2 separate regions of the Homo sapiens genome follow, and region 1 is linked to region 2. The links are contacts of gene promoters, found by promoter capture Hi-C in blood cells and fetal thymus (Javierre and others, 2016). All regions are on one chromosome and are shown on one strand. The core of a region is centred on a gene start or on the middle of the fragment in contact, and the rest is flanking DNA. Distances in the headings are between cores, read along the strand shown.

The links. The method cuts DNA at HindIII sites, captures the fragments that hold promoters and counts their contacts. A CHiCAGO score of 5 or more calls a contact.
Region 1: a fragment that was not itself captured here is called in contact with the fragment with the promoter of TREH in region 2 in 1 of 17 cell types (naive CD4 T cells); the score reaches 5.7 in naive CD4 T cells.

Annotation. Positions count from the first base shown.
Region 1 is chr11:118,770,177-118,774,086 of GRCh38, forward strand. The region is part of intron 4 of DDX6 (DEAD-box helicase 6); the gene reads right to left. Among named protein-coding and RNA genes, the nearest start is that of DDX6, 19 kb to the right of the region's middle. The HindIII fragment of the contact is 1,291 bases long and covers 1,228-2,518 here.
Region 2 is chr11:118,678,049-118,682,206 of GRCh38, forward strand. TREH (trehalase) reads right to left here and starts at 1,602. Exons shown (of 15, transcript NM_007180.3): 1 at 1,491-1,602. The coding sequence starts at 1,579. RefSeq lists enhancers at 832-1,493, 1,494-2,153. The HindIII fragment of the contact is 8,736 bases long and covers 1-4,158 here.

The sequences.
Region 1 (3,910 bases), core at 623-3,122, 92 kb after region 2:
CACCACACCCAGCTAATTCTTGTATTTTTAGTAGAGACGGGGTGTTTCACCATGTTGGCCAGGCTGGTCTTGAACTCATGACCTCAGATGATCCACCGACCTCGGCCTCCCAAAGTGTTGGGATTACAGGCATGAGCCACTGTGTCTGGCCTGAATTTTTAATTTCTAAAACTAAGATACTAGGAACCAAATTCACAGTCACTGACATTTGTCCCTTCTATGCCTGGGCTAACGACAAAAACAAACAAACAAACAAAAAACAGCTTTAGCCCTTTAAAGCTGCTATTGGTAGAAATGACTAAATAAGCAGGATGACTTCCATCTCCCACGACAACACTCTTTCTACCTAGAGCTCCAATCACAGGATATAAATGGGTTCCATATGGTCAGAACAACACAGCTGCCAGAACAACTGTGAAAATATTGTTGTTGGCTGGGAACGATGGCTCATGTCTGTAATCCCAGCACTTTGGGAGGCTGAGGTAGGCAGATCACCTGAGGTCAGGAGTTCGAGACCAGCCTGGCCAACATGGTGAAACCCCATCTCTGTTAAAAATACAAAAATGGTCATGGTGCGCACCTGTAGTCCCAGCTACTTGGGAGCCTGAGGTAGGAGAACTGCTTGAGCCCAGGAGGAGGAGGTTGCAGTGGGCCAAGATTGCGCCACTGCACTCCAGCCTGGGCAATGGAGCAAGACTCAGTCTCACAAAAAAAAAAAAAAAGAGAGAGAAAAGAAAAGAAAATACTGTTGTCTTGTTCTTACAGCCAGCATTAAAGACTCTGCTTATTAAGGTAAAGCAAACAAAGAAGAAAACCTTGGCTTTAACCCTTTGGTCTTAAATTTCTTCCCTCATCACAGATAAGTGAACCATTATTTCCAGTTGTTCCAGAGGCTCCCATTACCCTGTCACCTCAGGTTTTCTCTTTTGTGGTTCTGTGGTGCCAGTAGTCTGTAGTTTTTAACAGGCTGCCTGCACACTACTCAGTTTTACAGTATTGAAAAAGTAAGATAGGTGGTCTCTGATGGTCTCATAACGACTTGCTGGGTCAGGTTCTTTAAAGTGTAAACCTTTTTTTCAATCAAGTGAGGCAGAACAGAATTAGACTAGAGGTATCCTAATCCCCCTTTTCAGTTCATCTTTTGACTGACTTGATTAAGGCCATTGACTTCTATTCCTTTGCCCTCTTTGACAGGGATTATACCCTACAAAAACTGTTCAAGGATAAAGCTTTAACAAAGTACATGTGATAGACTGTAAGTTAAGACACCCTGATATTTTGCCTTATATGATGGCCATTATGATTAACAGTCAGTGAATTCAGCACATCCACACTGCCTCTTACCAGTGTTTCTCAGGAAATAATGAAAAGCAAGAGAATTCAAGTCAAGTTCAAAAAGCTGTGAAATACAAGAGGAAATTATGAGGAACTGCCAGGGAGAAGGCAAAGGAGGAAGGAAACGAAAACTTTTTTTAAAACTTACTATGTGCTCAGCACAACTTTCAAGTTAGGTACTTTGTTTTACAACTGACAAAATGGATCCTAAACAGGATTAGTTTGCCCAAGGTCACAAAGCAAGAAATGCTTTAGCCAGTATTTGAACTTAGATCTGCACATAACATGTAGGCAAGAAGTTGGAGAAAATGGAACTCTCATACACTGCTAGTGGGAATGTACAGCTACGCTGGAAACCAGCCTTGCAGTTCCTCAAAAGGTTAAAAAGAGTTACCATATGAACTAGCAATTCTAGGTATACAGCGAAGAGAAATAAAAACATCTCCACACAAAAACCTGCACCTGAATTTTCATAGCAGCATTATCCTTAATAGCCAGTTCCTTCTATGTTTTTTTTTATAATAGTACAAACTTTATTCATAAATAAAACTTCATAAGGTTAAAGCAGGGTCAGTTCCTATTTTAAAAAGGGAACAGGGGAAGGCAGCCTGCTATTTTATTTAAAATCACAAGTTAGGTTTTTCAGACGGATGACAGTTGAGATCATTAAATCCCCTTCCTACTTCTCAGATTTTCACAAAATAGCACATTAAATCCTCAGTCCTTGGAAAACAACCCCAAATGTCTACCAACTGATGACTGGATAAATCAGAAGTAATAGAGCCATACAATAAAATATTATTCAGGAAAAAGGAATGGAATATTGATACAAGCTACAACACAGATGAACTCGGAAAACATTACGCTAAGTCAAAGAAGCCAGTCACAAAAAAAACACATACTATAGGATTCTATTTATATGACATGTCCAGACTAGGCAAAGCTAGAATGACAGAAAGTATACCAGTGGTTGTTTAGGGGTGTGGGAAAATGAGGTGTGACTGCTAAAAGGGTTTCTTTTGTGGGACTGATCAAAATGTTCTAAAATTTATTGTGGTAATGGTTGCAGAACTCTAAATGCACTAAAAAGCATTAAATTGTATACTTTTGATGTGTGATGTCATTTATATCTCAATAAAGCTATTACCCCCAAAAAACAAAACCCCAAAAAACCAACCCCACAAGCTTAGGGCTGACATCTGCCACCTTAGGTCTCCAAATTCACATTCACTGTAACGTTTAGATAATGACTGAAGAGTATTTGTTGTGTTTTGGTTACTCTAGTATCCCTTTACTAAGTAACACCCCAATTTCCTTCTAAGGAATTACATATGCCCTGGTCTCCCCTGTCCCAACAGACCAAGCCTCACCAATTTTCTAAGCCAAGTGGTAGACACATAGCCCACACTGGGCCAGCGGAATGTTGCCTCCTAAGAATCTAAATTGTTATAGTGCATCCATTACAGCTTCCTAAGTCCTTCAGAGCTATCTCAATTCTTAGTCATTTCCAAGTATGTTTCTCTAGCCTTCTCAATCTTGTGAATTCCCGTTATTTTTCCAATAAATTTCCTTTTGCTTAAGTTAGATCGAGTTGGTTTCTGATGCCTATAATTAAAGAATGGTTTATTTTCCAATCTCCTAGCATTGAGAGGCATTTTACAAAAGTGTGGTACCAACAAAAGCTCAACATCACCCAACTAGCTGCATTTACACTGACTGCTTCCTCTTATTTTCCAAACCTTAATTTCCAAGAGGGAAAAAAAACCTATGGTTAAAGGCCGGGCGCGGTGGCTCACGCCTGTAATCCCAACACTTTGGGAGGCCGAGGTGGGCAGACCATGAGGTCAGGAGATGGAGACCATCCTGGCTAACATGGTGAAACCCCGTCTCTACTAAAAAAATACAAAAAAATTAGCCGGGCGTGGTGGCAGGCGCCTGCAGTCCCAGCCACTTGGGAGGCTGAGGTAGGGGAATGGCGTGAACCCAGGAGGCAGAACTTGCAGTGAGCCAAGATTGCACCACTGCACTCCAGCCTGGGCGACAGAGCGAGACTCTGTCTCAAAACAAAATAAAACAAAACAAAAAAACAACCTATGGTTACTCCAGACGAGGTAGCAATGATTGTTACAAATGTCCCCTGCTTAACAGGAAAAAAAAAAAGGGAGATGGTAATTTCTAATTATATCTCTAATTTAGGCTGGGGATGGTGGCTCACACCTGTAATCTCAACCCTCTGCAAGGCTGAGGCAGGAGAACTGCTTGAGGCCAGGAGTTCAAGACCAGCCAGTGTGACAAACTGAGACTCTGTCTCCCCGACCCCACCCAAAAAGAAAACAAAACAAAACACACACCAAAAAAAAAAACAAAACAAACAAACAAAAAAAACCTTTGAGTTTTTAGGAAATATTTTTTTCAATCATGATAAACCGATTGTTAGCAGGAAGAATGACTTATTTACAGGATTCAGAATGCTATAATTCCTAACTATAAATAGTAAACTATTAATCCTCATTAGACCTTAGCTGACCTGGCACAAAATTTTGTTGCCAACAGTACGGAGCTTCCATGTTTCCCT
Region 2 (4,158 bases), core at 352-2,851:
AACCCAAGCCCAAACCTTGTTGCCTGGAGCCCCGCTCTCCCCGGACCTGTTCCCACTCTGCCCCAATCACACAGGCCTTCGTCCCAATCCCTGAACAGTGCGTCAGGGCCTCTGCATGGCCCTTTCCATGCCTGGACTGTCCTCTCCCAGATCAGCTCAGCAATGGTTCCTGCCACAATTCTGCTTACACATCACCTCCTCAGAGACACCGTCCCTCCCCATCCTCTCTAACACACCCTCTGCTCACCCACACCAGCGGGCCCTAACTTCTCTCTACTTCAAACTGTGCTTCTGTTACTGTTTTGCTTCTATTATTATTATTATTATTATTTGAGATAGAGTTTTGCTCTTGTTGCCCCGACTGGAGTGCAATGGCATGATCTTGGCTCACTGCAACCTCCACATCCCAAGTTCAAGCGACTCTCCTGCCTCAGCCTCCCGAGTAGCTGGGATTACAGGCGTGCGCCACCATGCCCGGCTAATTTTGTATTTTTCATAGAGATGGGGTTTCACCATGTTGGCCAGGCTGGTCTCGAACTCCTGACCTCAGATGATAGCTCCCACCTTGGCCTCCCAAAGTGCTGGGATTACAGGCATGAGCCACCGTGCCCAGCTGTTTTTCTTCTATTATTATTGTTCTTGCAGGAGCTGGTAAAGTGGCTGATGTGGCCACAGCTCCATAAATCCATGTGGAACGAAGGGTGGACATCGCCTGAGTCCAGGAGACAGGACAGGGTCACTCATCTCTGTCCCTGGTGATGGAAACTCAGGCTCAGGAAAGAGCCTTGACCTGCCCTGGGTCACAGAGAGAATATGAGGGTCAGGGCTCAAGCCCAAGTGCTGTCTTCAGGCCCTTAGGCTGCCTCTCACACCCAGACTAGGAAGCTGGAGCAGAAAGTTTGCTAGAACAATCCTGAGAAGAGGCCTGCACAGTTCAAGGGGCAGCTTGGAGGAGGAGAGGAAGGGAGGGCGGGCTCTGGCCAGCAGGCTCTTGGACCTCAGGCCAGGCTCTGGCAGCTGCGTCTGGTATCAGGACTGCAGGTCCCGACAGGGGGCGGTGGCTCACGCTTGTATTCCCAGCACAGTCGCCAAGCCTAATGTCCCTTCCAACGGTGGAAAATTTTGGTAAAAATCAATGACAGGCTGGGCGTGGTGGTGCATGCCTGTGATTCCAGCTACTCAGGAGGCTGAGGCACGAGAATCTCTCGAACCCGGGAGGTCTAGGCTGCAGTGAGTGGAGATGGTGCCACTGTACTCCATCTGGACGACCGAGCAAGACTCTAACAACAACAACAAAAAAAACGGACTGCAGGTGCAGTGCCCAGCACAGAGCCTGCTACATAGGAATTCTCATTTTCTTCTCTTCCCTACTCTTTCCTTCCTTTATAATCTCTTCCTTTCCCTCTGAAGTACCGACCCCAGAGCTTGAGATCTCATCCCAGCCTCCCTCTTATTGCCATCCTCCCCTGCTGCCTTCCCCACACCCCTACCTCTCACAGGGTGGGGGTAGGGCCTCCTGGGACCCCAGTCCCAGCCCCAGCAGCAGTAGCAGGCACAGCTCCCAGGTCCTCCCTGGCATGGTGGCTGTGACTGTGACTGAATGAGCAAGCCCAGGCACCTTCGGCTTGCTGGGCACAGCCTGGCTCACCTGCCTGTCCAAGTCGGCCAAAGTCCAGCCTTTGAGGCGTGGCCACCTGAGGGGACGTGTGCTTGGTCTGTGTGTGGCCCGCTTGCCCCTCCTGCTCTCAGGGCACAGTGGCCACCTCCCTTGCTTCTACTTTGCCTCTTCTATTTCACAGTCTCAGCTGGTGCCAATGGCTCAGGCCCTTCCCTCAGAGCATGGTGGTGGGGGTGGGGAGTGGGCACCCAAAGGCCAGGGACACAGTCGAGGCCACACACCTGTAACCTGGATGCCAGGTTCCTTGGGTGGCCCCAAGACCACCAACCTCAGAGAGTTACCATTTCCCTTAACATTTCAAATGGAATGGCTCAAGATCCTGTCCCTGGTGTGGTGTGAAATTCAGGGCCTCTCACTGTTATCTGCAAGAGATACAGCGGAAGCACAGGACAGTAGAACCATTCTGTCTGGGGAGGACTAAGGGAGACCCACAATAGTGTGTCATTTGTAATGAGTCTTTTTTTTTTTTTTTTTGAGACTGAGTCTCACTCTGTCGCTAGGCTGGAGTGCAGTGGCGTGATCTCAGCTCACTGCCACCTCCGCCTCCCGGGTTCAAGCAATTCTCCTGCCTCAGCATCCTGAATAGCTGGGACTACAGGTGCCCGCCACCACGCCCAGCTAATTTTTGTATTTTTAGTAGAGACGGGGTTTCACTGTGTTGGCCAGGATGGTCTCAATCTCTTGACCTCATGATCTGCTCGCCTTGGCCTCCCAAAGTGCTGGGATTACAGGCGTGAGCCACTGCGCCAGTCCTAATGAGTCTTGATGACCGCATAGGAGTTTGCCAAGGGAAATGGGCTGGAGACCACTACAATGTATGCAGAGCATGTGAAGAGAAGAGCAAACCCCTCAGCCTAGCTGCAGAGAACTTGGTGTTCATGCAGGGAAGGGTTTTGAGATAGACTGGAGGAACATGTTGGCACCAGTCTGGAAATGGTCTTTGCCAAGCCAAGGAATGTAATTCCTTGTAATTCCCCAAAGTGGAACCAGCAGAGAAGTTTGTGAGCTTAAGAAGCAGATTCAGGCTGGGTGCAGTGGCTCATGCCTGTAATCCCACCACTTTGGGAGGCCGAGGCGGGTGGATCACCTGAGGTCAGGAGTTCAAGACCAGCCTGGCCAACATGGTGAAACCCCGTCTCTACAAAAATACAAAAATTAGCTGGGCATGATGGCGGGTACCTGTAATCCCAGCTCCTCAGGAGGCTGAGGTGGGAGAATCGCTTGAACTCGGGAGACAGAGGTTGTAGTGAGCCGAGATCATGCCACTGCACTCCAGCCTGGGCGACAGAGTAAGTCTCTGTCTCAAAAAAAAAAAAAAAAAAAAAAAAGCAGATTCGGTTACTTTAGGAGGCTCATCCCCTCAACATATGGAAGGTGAGCTGAAGGGACAGGGGACAGGGGGTGGGCAAGGCACATGGAGTTTAATGATAGGCATGACCTCTCCTGAAGGACTTAGGTTTGCAGTTAAGGATGTCAGTTGTGGCACCTGAGCAGTGTTTACTGCTATTAAAAAGAAAAACCTTAGACAAATTAAATTTAACCATTTATTCAAGCAAAGAAATGACTCATGAATCAGGCACCACTCTGAACTAGTAAAGGTTCAGATAGCTCCACCCAGTAATGTGGGCAGCTGGCATTGTTTTTTTTGTTTGCTTTGTTTTTTGAGACAGGGTCTCGCTCTGTTGCCCAGGCTGGCATGCAGTGGCTCCATCACAGCTCACTGCAGCCTTGATCTCTCAGGTTTAAGGGATTCTCCCACCTCAGCCTCCTGAGCAGCTGGGACCACAGGCACATGCCACCACGCCCAACTAATTTTTAAATTAAAAATAATTTTTTTTTTTTTAGAGATTGGGTCTCCCTATGTTGTCCAGGCTGGTGTGGAACTCCTGAGCTCAAGCAATCCTCCTGCCTCATCCTCCCAATGTATTGGGATTACAGGTGTGAGCCACCATGCCTGGTCAACAATTTTTAAGTGTACAATTCAATTTCCTTTTATTACATTCACAATGCTGTGCAACCACCCTTGCATTCTTTGGATAAATCTCACTTGGTCATGATGTCTAATCCTTTTAATAAACTGTTGGTTTTGGCTTGCGAGTATTTTTTTGAGGAATTTTGCATCAATATGTATAGAGCATATTTGACTGTAATTTTCTTTCCTTGTTTTGTTTTGTTTTTTTTTTTTTTTGGACACATAGTCTTGCTCCATCACCCAGCAGGCTGGAATACAGTGGCATGAACACAGCTCACCACAACCTCGACTTCCTGGGGCTCAAGTGGTCATCTGGCCTCAACCTTCTGAGTAGCCAGGACTACAGGTGCATGCCACCACGCCTGGGTAATTTTTAAATTTTTTTGTAGAGACTACATCTGACTGTGTCGCCCAGGCTGGTCTTGAACTCCTGGCCTCAAGTGATCCTCCCGCCTTGGCCTCCCAAAGTGTTTCTCCCCAAGTGTGAGCCACCATGCCCAGCCCTCTT